Linked DNA regions of Homo sapiens: regions 1 and 3 are each linked to region 2. Evidence: promoter capture Hi-C in 16 types of primary human blood cells and fetal thymus (Javierre and others, 2016). All regions are on one chromosome and are shown on one strand. Each heading gives the region's core, a stretch centred on a gene start or on the middle of the fragment in contact. The rest is flanking DNA. Distances are from core to core; before and after follow the strand shown. Region 1 holds the start of NCKAP1L (NCK associated protein 1 like). Region 2 overlaps ITGA5 (integrin subunit alpha 5). Region 3 holds the start of GTSF1 (gametocyte specific factor 1).

Region 1 (3,452 bases), core at 283-2,782, 94 kb before region 2:
TCATTCTCATAATCTGTCTTAGGAAAAGGCAACCTGGGAACTAATTTAAAAAGCATGAGAGGCTGGGCGCAGCGGCTCACACCTGTAATCCCAGCACTTCGGGAGGCCGAGGCAGGCAGATCACAAGGTCAGAAGTTCGAGACCAGCCTGGCCAACATGGTGAAACCCCGTCTCTACTAAAAATACAAAAATTAGCTGGGCATGGTGGTGCACAACTGTAGTCCCAGGTACTTGGGAGGCTGAGGCAGGAGAATCGCTTGAACCCGGGAGGCGGAGGTTGCAGTGAGCCAAGATCGTGCCACTGCACTCCAGCCTGGGCGACAGAGCGAGACTCCGAAAATAAATAAATAAATAAATAAATAAATAAATATAAAAATAAAAAGCATAAGAGTAGGTCAAGAAAAAATTCCAAGACATTAAGCCAAGTATCTAAGAGCGAAATAACAACCTAGGCATTTTGTCTTGATGGGTAGAGTTTAATGCCTGCTTGGCCCCAGCACAAAGAGGAAGCTGTTTCCCCGCCCCTCAACTGAAGCCGGAAGGAACAAGAAAAGCAGCTGCTCAGGAGTTAGACTTTGTACAAGATTCAGTGTCACAATTTTGTTCACTATGTAAGTATCTTATCCCAAAGGGCATTTACAGGATTCATGGTGACAGAGAAACCGTGTTCCTGGTGATTTGTTTTATTACAAAAAACACAAAAGCTCCCTCCCCCAAAGTCCCCTATTTTCTATGCCAGGAACTCCCCATAAACACCCCTGTCTTTATCTCTTTACTTCCTATGGTTTGCCCAGCCCCTAGCCCACCTCTTGTCACTAGCTTCTTTCAATTCCTCAGTTCCTATTCTAAACACACACACACACACACACACACACACACACACAACCACCACAGCATGAACTACCCCAGGAGCAGCTCAGAAGACACCTACCCTTTTTAATCTAAATACCTAATTATCTATTTTTTTTCCTTTTAGGGAAGCACTTCCACAGAAAAGTTTTTGCCAGAGACCCAGCTTCAGATCTCTTCAGAGTGTAGAGGATCAACAATAAATAATAAAACCCAGAAGGTTGGACCCCAGACCTTTATCCAAGTCACTTGGAATACCACTGTTGTTTCCCCATCCCCACCCTCACCCCCATCCCCAGAGGAAAGCAGATGCCATCGTTGGGGCAAGAATCATATCTAGAAAGGGGAAGCCTTGAAAAGAAGCCTCCACTTCTGCCTTCCTGAACTGGCTGGCCTGTATAATCTGAGTGATTATGTAGATTATAGTCAGTGGAAAAGCAGTGGAAAAAAAGGTGGGAGTCTAACTGCTGCACCTGCCGCCTCAGGGTTCCCTGCCCTATTATTGTTGGAATAATCAGTACTAGTCCCATTGTTCATGCTTACCTTCTTGATGTTATACATACGGATGAGAACCCCCTGACCGCGATCATTCAGGATAGTGAGCTTCTCTGCTAATTTATGCTGGTAAGCAGATGTCAAAGACATGATGGCCACTGAGAGAGGAGCACCAGACAGCAATGTCTGATCTCCCCAAACACTTTCAGCTTAGATGGTGACACCCTCTGGCGGAGGGACCCAGCCTGGTTGGTGCACTGGTCTTCTGTTGCCTCTGCAATTGGCTCATGGGTGAAATCAGTCATTATGGCTCACAGGCCCTCAGAGCCTTCTTGTGCTTCCTCTTGCACACTCAGCAGGGGAGACTTCCTCTTTCTGGCTGTGCAGCACTTTTGGTAAGGCTATGAAGTGGGTGGAGCTGAGGAGAAGGACAGGCTTTCAAGGCTCTTCACAGACTGCACCAACCTTTTTGGTCTTATGCCCCCATAAGTGTCCTAGACAAAGCTGGGCGTGGTGGCTCACACCTGTAATCCCAGCACTTTGGGAGGAAAAGGTGGGAAGATCCATTGAGCTCAGGAGTTCCAGACCAGCCTGGGCAACATAGCAAGACCCCATCTCTATAAAAAATAAAAATTAAAAGCTGTAAGCTAGATAAACAAGTATCTACCACCCCACCCCTGTACACCTCTATATTTTCCTTCTTTTATATCCAAGAATGCCTATGAACCTTTGGCCTCATCATGTTTTAGTACCCAGATCAAATCCCATCTTCTCCTAAAGACCCCATCAATGTCAAATATTATATTGTATTATATTTTATATTGTCAAATACATATATTCCTTGTTATATGTTTATAGTGTACGTTGTATCTCCCCCAACTACAGCATAAGCTCCTTAATGACAGGAATTGTACCTAATACTTTTTTTTCTTTTTTTTTTTTTTTTTGAAACAGAGTTCCACTCTTGTTGCCCAGGCTGGAGTGCAATGGCATGATCTCTGCTCACTACAACCTCCACCTCCTGGGCTCAAGCAATTCTCCAGCCTCAGCCTCTGGAGTAGCTGTGGTTACAGGTGCCCACCACCACGCCTTGCTAATTTTTGTATTTTTAGTAGACATGGGGTTTCACCGTGTTGGCCAGGCTGCTCTCGAACTCCTGACCTCAGGTGATTTACCCGCCACAGCCTCCCAAAGTACTGGAATTACAGGCATGAGCCACCACACCCGGCCTCTAATACTTTTTTATATTTCTCACAATGCTCTACTACAGTGCATTGTACTTCTACAGTACATAATAATTCTCAAAGTAGTTCTCAAGAAGTACATAGTAATTCTCAAAATGTGATCCAGCAGCATCAGCATCACCTGGAAACTTGTTAGAGATGCAAATTCTTAGGACCCGCCCCAGACCACTGAATCCAAAATTCTGGGGTGGGTCCAGGCACTCTGTGTTTTAACAAACCCTCCAGGTGATTCCAATGCACACTCAAGTTTGAGAACCAGTGCTCTAGTACCATGGTATTTATGGATGCTTGAGAAACAGATCAATCCCTGTCCTCTGAGATTAGCATTGGTAGGTAGGCGAGTCTGTTGTGGGGCCTAGAAGTCTGTACTTATATAAGCACTGTTGTAGGAGGTTTTGGTACAAATATTCCATTCTGAAAAACACTGATCTAGAACAATACCTCTTGGACACAGTAGTCACTCAATAAATATGCTGGTTTATTTGTTGAATTATTAAGACTAAATTAGGAAATAGGCCCCATGAAGAAGAACCAAATTAATCAAGATTAAAAAGAGGAAATTAGTAATCACCCTTAAATCTTAGAGACTTGAATGAATTTTAGCATTAAAATATTCTTGCCATTCCAATGAGGCCTTAACTCCGTAACTCAAGAAAATTTTCAACTCTATTTCAACTTTCTTTCAAGACACAAAGCAAAAGGTCCTAGGAAAAATTATAAATCAAAAAGAGTTCTCTTCATTTCCACCACCTTGCCAATTCCTTTTCTCAGGTTTTTAATCATTCCCATTTTCCGTATCCAGAGTTCCCATTGTCCCAATAAATTCTAGGGAGTGGGAGAAGAGAGACAAGGCTGATCAGCATT
Region 2 (3,359 bases), core at 28-2,527:
CTGCTCATGGATCGGACCCCTGACGGGCGGCCTCAGGAGGTGGGCAGGGTCTACGTCTACCTGCAGCACCCAGCCGGCATAGAGCCCACGCCCACCCTTACCCTCACTGGCCATGATGAGTTTGGCCGATTTGGCAGCTCCTTGACCCCCCTGGGGGACCTGGACCAGGATGGCTACAATGGTGAGTACCATGGGCTCAGAGAGTGAAAGAGGAGGCAGGGGCCCAAGTCAGAAGGGATTTGGGGAGAGGGCATCTGTCAGCTAAGATACCCAGACCTCCACGACTTCCCGAGGGGTTAAAATCCCACTGTCTGGGTCTTGGGATTTGAAGATTAGAATATAGGGACTGACAGATGGGAAAAAATAGGATCCTAGGTCCTGGGGTCTGGTAGTAGAGATTAGAGCCCATGGATTCCTGGCCTGCTGACTAGTGTGTGTTCTGTGTCTTCCAGATGTGGCCATCGGGGCTCCCTTTGGTGGGGAGACCCAGCAGGGAGTAGTGTTTGTATTTCCTGGGGGCCCAGGAGGGCTGGGCTCTAAGCCTTCCCAGGTTCTGCAGCCCCTGTGGGCAGCCAGCCACACCCCAGACTTCTTTGGCTCTGCCCTTCGAGGAGGCCGAGACCTGGATGGCAATGGATATCCTGGTGAGTTGTGCCTGAGGCCCCTTTTCACCTTAAAATTCCCTGGTCACTGACCCCTACTCTCTCTTCTGCACCTTTCCTTAAGTTCCTGGGTGCAGTTCTGGCTAATTCCAACAGAGGGCGCTGTCTTCTCACTTCAACCTCCCTGAGCGTTGAAACCAGGAGGGGTTAGGAAGAAAGGATCCTGATCTGGGGCTTGCTGTAAGAGGTGATTTCTTGACTTCTTACAGATCTGATTGTGGGGTCCTTTGGTGTGGACAAGGCTGTGGTATACAGGTATGAGCTCCAAAGGGAGATGAGGGGACAACCTGGGTGGACTGGAACTGGAAATTTCTCAACAGAGCTGAGGTTGGGAAAATCAATGCAGAGGACACACATTCTGGCGCTTGGGCATCAGTTTCCTGTGTCCAGGTTACAGAGGAGTCCTAATTCTATTGACCCCACATTCACTCTTGGCAGGGGCCGCCCCATCGTGTCCGCTAGTGCCTCCCTCACCATCTTCCCCGCCATGTTCAACCCAGAGGAGCGGAGCTGCAGCTTAGAGGGGAACCCTGTGGCCTGGTGAGCTGGTGCCCAGGAAATTGCAGAGACCTGAGCCTGGGAGTGGGCAGGGGCACCAAGTCTGCCTTAAAAAGGGGAAAATGGTGGTGTCCTAGTCTGGGTCTGGCTGGGAGATAGGTAGAGGATAGGATGTCTGTTCCAGTTGGATTCACCAGCTTTCTTCTTGGTCTCTCTCCAGCATCAACCTTAGCTTCTGCCTCAATGCTTCTGGAAAACACGTTGCTGACTCCATTGGTGAGGGAGACTGCCTGGATCTCTCAGGCCCTAGGACAGAGAATGAAGGGACTGGGGACCTGGGGACATTTCTTCTCTCTGAAAAGATGAGGAAAGACAGGCAGTTTCCCTTTATATGTCCCTGGCTTCAGGTTTCACAGTGGAACTTCAGCTGGACTGGCAGAAGCAGAAGGGAGGGGTACGGCGGGCACTGTTCCTGGCCTCCAGGCAGGCAACCCTGACCCAGACCCTGCTCATCCAGAATGGGGCTCGAGAGGATTGCAGAGAGATGAAGATCTACCTCAGGGTATGGCCCAGAGGGCGGGGTGTGGACTGGCCAGGGAGGGTGGCCACACAGAACTGAGGGCACCTCCTGAAGGGAAAAAGACTGGGGGACTCCAGTGAAGGGCTTGGGACTCTTGTAGGGGCTGAGAAAGGGAGACCTTCTGTCAGAGGAGCTGGGAAGCAGGCTGCCAGGGCCTCTGAAACAATGAGGATGGTCGGAATTGGGCCCTAAGCAGACAAAGGGAGATGAGAGAGGCTGAGGAGCAGGGCCACTAAGTCTCCAGAGTCCCCTGACTCCGTGAACTCTCTCCTCTGGCCCCAGAACGAGTCAGAATTTCGAGACAAACTCTCGCCGATTCACATCGCTCTCAACTTCTCCTTGGACCCCCAAGCCCCAGTGGACAGCCACGGCCTCAGGCCAGCCCTACATTATCAGAGCAAGAGCCGGATAGAGGACAAGGTGAGGACAGGGCAGGGAGAAGGGACCTGGGAAGACAGAGGCCTGGGTATTGGGGGGGCAGGGCCATGGAAAGAGAAGAGCCTACAGCCCAGGAATGGGTCTAAACTTCCCCTCTCAAGGCTGCCCTGCTCCCCAGGCTCAGATCTTGCTGGACTGTGGAGAAGACAACATCTGTGTGCCTGACCTGCAGCTGGAAGTGTTTGGGTAAGTAGGGCTGACGGTAAGCTAGGGAGCTCCAGGTGCACCTGGCACCTGAAAAAATCAGCTAGGGACATACTAGCTGTGTCGCCTTGGGAAGTTGCTGAGCTGCTCTGAGCTTTAACTCCTTTGTCTGTATAGTGGGAATAGTAGCATTTATTTCTCAGACTTTTTGGAAAGATTAAATGAAATAATCTACATAAAAAATCTAGCCTAGTGCCTGCCATAGAGTTAGAACTCAGTAAGCAGTGTCTATTGTTACTTTATTATTACTCTTTTTTTTTTTTTGAGACGGAGTCATGCCCTTGTCACCCAGGCTGGAGTGCAGTGGCGCAATCTCGGCTCACTGCAACCTCCGCCTCCCAGGTTCAAGCGATTCTCTGCCTCAGCGTCCCAAGTAGCTGGGATTACAGGTGCCTGCCACCATGCCGGGCTAATTTTTTTATTATTATTTTTAGTAGAGACAGGGTTTCATCATCTTGGCCAGGCTTGTCTTGAACTCCTGACCTCGTGATCCACCCGCCTCAGCCTCCCAAAGTGCTGGGATTACAGGTGTGAGCCACCACACCCGGCCTCGTATTACTACTCTTATAATGGTCCTTTGTCCTGGTTTGAGGATTAATTCACCAATGTCCCTTACCCTCTGTGTCCCTTCCAGGGAGCAGAACCATGTGTACCTGGGTGACAAGAATGCCCTGAACCTCACTTTCCATGCCCAGAATGTGGGTGAGGGTGGCGCCTATGAGGCTGAGCTTCGGGTCACCGCCCCTCCAGAGGCTGAGTACTCAGGACTCGTCAGACACCCAGGGGTGAGATGAGACTCTCGAGTGGGATTTGGGAGGATACCCCTCTAGAGGGGACACCAAAACCTGACCAGTGCCCACCCCATCTCCAGAACTTCTCCAGCCTGAGCTGTGACTACTTTGCCGTGAACCAGAGCCGCCTGCTGGTGTGTGACCTGGGCAACCCCATGAAGGCAGGAGCCAGTGTAAGTTTGGGAT
Region 3 (3,606 bases), core at 896-3,395, 70 kb before region 2:
CTCCTCCTTCAAATGAATCATCCAGGCCATGGGTGAAAGAATGGCTTTTTTGATTTCAAAACAATGCCTAGGTCAGTTGTTCTCAGCCCTGGCTACACATTAAATTCATCTGGGTAGATTTTTAAAAATAACTATGCCTGGCTCTTTCACATTAATTGGTGTGGGATGGGAAGTTGGCATGGTATGTCTTAAAAGCTCCCCTGATGATTCTAAGGTGTAGACAAGATTAAGAACCACTAGCCTACAATGGCTTGAGCCTGGCTTCCATCAACACTTGGTTCTTTTTAGTGTCTTAATCTGAACTGATGGCTGTGGAGCAAACTCTCTTCTAGTAGGAAAAAAAGGTCGGGGGGAGGGGGTGCGGAGGGAGTAACAACAATAAACGCTCACAAATTAATCATGTAAAACGAAAACATCCCTTGCCCGGCGCAGTGGATCACACCTGTAATCTCAGCACTTTGGGAGGCCGAGGCAGGCAGATCACCTGAGGTCAGGAGTTTGAGACCAGCCTGGCCAACATGGTGAAACCCCCGTCTCTACTTAAAAAAAAAAAAAAAAAAGCTGGGTGTGGTAGTGCCTGCCTGTAGTTCCAGCTTCTCAGGAGGCTGAGGCAGGAGAATCACTTGAACCCAGGAGGCGGAGGTTGCAGTGAGCCGAGATCATGCCACTGCTCTCCTGCATGGGCGACAGAGCGAGACTCCATCTCAAAAAAAAAAAAGAAGAAAAAGAAAATGCCCCACTGATCCTTTTTACTAAAGCTACATTCAGTTTTTGTCAGGGTAGTCCTCTCAAGTCCTATTTGGGCTCTACACCACTGAAATGCTGTAGAAATCCCAATATTTCACTGCCCAGACTAATCACCCAGACTGCCTCCTACATCTTGAACAGCACAGAATGTTTTGTCATATCTTTTACTTCTTGGTTTTGAAAAATATTACCACCAGATCTACTTGTAGTGTCAACACCTTCCTTTTTTTGTCTAACCTTCAAAGGCTACAAGTCCCTTTTCTCTATAATGCCTTCCCAGGTCATTTCAGGCCCCATTAATTTTTTTCCTTACAGGAATTTACAGTCTCTACCACTTTTTTTGGCATTTTTTGTACTGCTATTAAACCTTTCATCCACTTTGGGAGTCGTTTTTCTAAGCACTCTGGGGACAAGAACTGCAGCTTACACTTTTTTTCCCCAGAACAAAGCCTCACACTACGTTTGGTTTTCCCTTAACAAGTTGTAACCTTCCGGCCTTCTTGTCCTCTCCAACTCTTCATTGAGCTCTCTCCCCAACTCTAAAACTCGCTTTCATCAGGCAGCAACAACCATCATCCTACCAAGCATTCTCAGATAGTTAGTGCCTTTTGAATTTTGGGATTTTACAACACATTCTAAACAAGAACAGCCAGACACAAAATTCCTGTCCTTGGTGATTGTTTTGTGGCTGCACTGCGTATCTCCTTTATAATTCCTCTTCTCTTCCCTCAAAATCTAAATTACCTTTCTATCTAGACAACTTCCACAAACAAGGCTTCTTTCTAGGCAGCTCCCCACCTCTAACCAGTTCCATCAGTCCCATTCCCTCAGGCGCCATTTTTTTTTTTTTTTTTTTTTTTTTCCTGAGACGGAGTCTCACTCTGCCGCCCAGGCTGGAGTGCAGTGGTGCAATCTCGGCTCACTGCAGCCTCCGCCTCCCGGGTTCAAGCAATTCTCCTGCCTCAGCCTCCCAAGTAGCTGGGATTACAGGCGCCCGCCACCACACCCAGCTAATTTTTGTATTTTTAGTAGAGACGAGGTTTCACCATGTTGGCCAGGCTGGTCTTGAACTCCTGAGGTAATCGCAGGTGCCCATTTCTAAGTGCTCATCTGCCTTTTCTAAGATGGCCGCCACAAAACCCAGGGAAAGAAATGCGAGTTCTACCCTCTCAAGGCCACTGTTGTTCTGGGGGCCAGGGGAGGATGGCCCCAAAGATGGGGTGCCCAAGGAGGAGATCCTCGTGGGAAAGGGTCATCAGGGAGCTGACCCTAGGGGCTCACAGGTGAACTCCACAGCTGATCCACCCTGCCCCACACTCAGCCAGAACCGAGACTCCCAGTCACAGGAAGTGCCGGCCCCTCGCCCCACCTCCCAACGTTAGGCGCCGGAAGTGGCCGTTGCTGGGGCTTGCGTGGGAGGAAGGTGACTGTGAGGAAGGTGTGTGTCCACCGAGGTAAGGAAAGGCACCCCGGGGCGCCTCTAAGCAATTCCTATTTTGCGTACCGGGATACCTTCACCTTCTAATATCCTCATTTCGCTTTTCTGCTGGTAGCCTTCAGCCTTGTGGGCTCTCAATGCAGCTATTTTGGCTACCAACCTGTTTCGCTGCATTGCCCACTCGAGGGCCTCCTTGGCGCCTTTTCTATGTTTTTTTTAAGTTAACCACCTCCCCCACTTTCTCTTATTTAGTCTCATTGATTAAGTCTACTGTGATTTTGTTGTTGTTGTTGTTGTTTAAAGGAAGAAAAATGATTCTTTTACTAAGGCCGGAATTCTGTTAAGCGTTTAACCAGTAGCCGCCGACTACATCCATACCCTAAACTTGATTGCTTCCGGCGTAGCTTGTCTATTTCACCGTGATCTAGTAGTAGGGAAAAGGTAAAGAATCCCGTTAACAGTTTGATGCGGAAGATACTTAAAACAGACACGGCTAAGTGATGGTACTGTGAATTCCAGTGCCCCTAGTGTACTGTAATTCGTCCTTTTGTCCGGGAAGAATAGGTTGGCTTCCTACAAGCTGCTGAATCTGGTGCTCATCACTTAAAATCAAGAAACATACTTGGTTCTTCCTTCCAAAACTCTTATTTTTAATGAAAAAGTATGAAGTAACTATGTATAAGTGAAATATATACAAAAAGACGGTGGGGATTTCTTGATCCAAACATAAATATGAAAAATATTTTTAAGACAAATTCACTAATGATTGTCATTAACAAATGGGCTCAGTAGCAAAAAAACTAGAGTTCTAGCTGATCACTTGTATTTCCTATCATAGGTTCTAACGCTGCTTATGTCACAGAATGGGGGGAGGGGTGGTGAGGAGTGTAGAATTGTGTGAGGGGCCAAAGGAGAGCATGCTCTAGAGACAGACAATTTTCAGAAGTTTCGTATGGGGATGGTTTTATATAAATTCAGGTTTTTCCCACAATAATAAATGTATTTAGTCTCAGTGCTCAATAGAAGAGATTTCTAATAGAAAAGGATTCAAACTGTGAAACCATTTCTCTTTTAATGTTTCACATTCCTGTTACAGATTTGTTCTCTTGTGACTCTGTTATCCATAATATGGACAGTTCTTGAGTCCTAACATTGAGAGGTTTTCCCTTAGTGCATAGAGGGAATGAGTATTAATTGGAGAAGCTTAAAGTATTGCCACTTTAGCACTGAAGATTGGGATGAGAGGAGGTGAAACCTCACTAGAAAAAGGGACAATGTTAGTGTGGCCCTTCCTGATCATGTTTAAGAAAAGTCATGAAAATGGTGAACTAGTGTTTCCAAGCATATTGGAAGGGTTGAGTGTATACTGTCTGTCAAAGACTTCCAGCATTTCCAGGTCCTAGAGAGGAACAAGACTGGTA

Evidence for each region. Contacts are between HindIII fragments. The CHiCAGO score rates a contact against its expected background, and 5 or more counts as called.
Region 1: a contact is called between the fragment with the promoter of NCKAP1L here and a fragment that was not itself captured in region 2, in 2 of 17 cell types (M2 macrophages and M1 macrophages). The highest score is 7.4, in M2 macrophages.
Region 3: a contact is called between the fragment with the promoter of GTSF1 here and a fragment that was not itself captured in region 2, in 1 of 17 cell types (M2 macrophages). The highest score is 6.8, in M2 macrophages.

What each region holds. Positions count from the first base shown.
Region 1 is chr12:54,495,832-54,499,283 of GRCh38, reverse strand. It overlaps NCKAP1L (NCK associated protein 1 like), which reads right to left and starts at 1,532. Exons shown (of 31, transcript NM_005337.5): 1 at 1,393-1,532. The coding sequence starts at 1,494. RefSeq lists enhancers at 1,341-1,400, 1,511-1,570. The HindIII fragment of the contact is 9,210 bases long and covers 1-3,452 here.
Region 2 is chr12:54,401,988-54,405,346 of GRCh38, reverse strand. ITGA5 (integrin subunit alpha 5) reads left to right here. Exons shown (of 30, transcript NM_002205.5): 12 at 1-181; 13 at 453-644; 14 at 872-917; 15 at 1,101-1,202; 16 at 1,381-1,436; 17 at 1,568-1,722; 18 at 2,023-2,160; 19 at 2,297-2,364; 20 at 3,017-3,167; 21 at 3,254-3,346. The region is part of intron 1 of GPR84-AS1 (GPR84, ZNF385A, ITGA5 and GTSF1 antisense RNA 1); the gene reads right to left. Among named protein-coding and RNA genes, the nearest start is that of ITGA5, 16 kb to the left of the region's middle. The HindIII fragment of the contact is 8,596 bases long and covers 1-3,359 here.
Region 3 is chr12:54,472,141-54,475,746 of GRCh38, reverse strand. GTSF1 (gametocyte specific factor 1) reads left to right here and starts at 2,145. Exons shown (of 9, transcript NM_144594.3): 1 at 2,145-2,201. RefSeq lists enhancers at 1,817-1,876, 1,542-2,068. The HindIII fragment of the contact is 3,434 bases long and covers 1-3,390 here.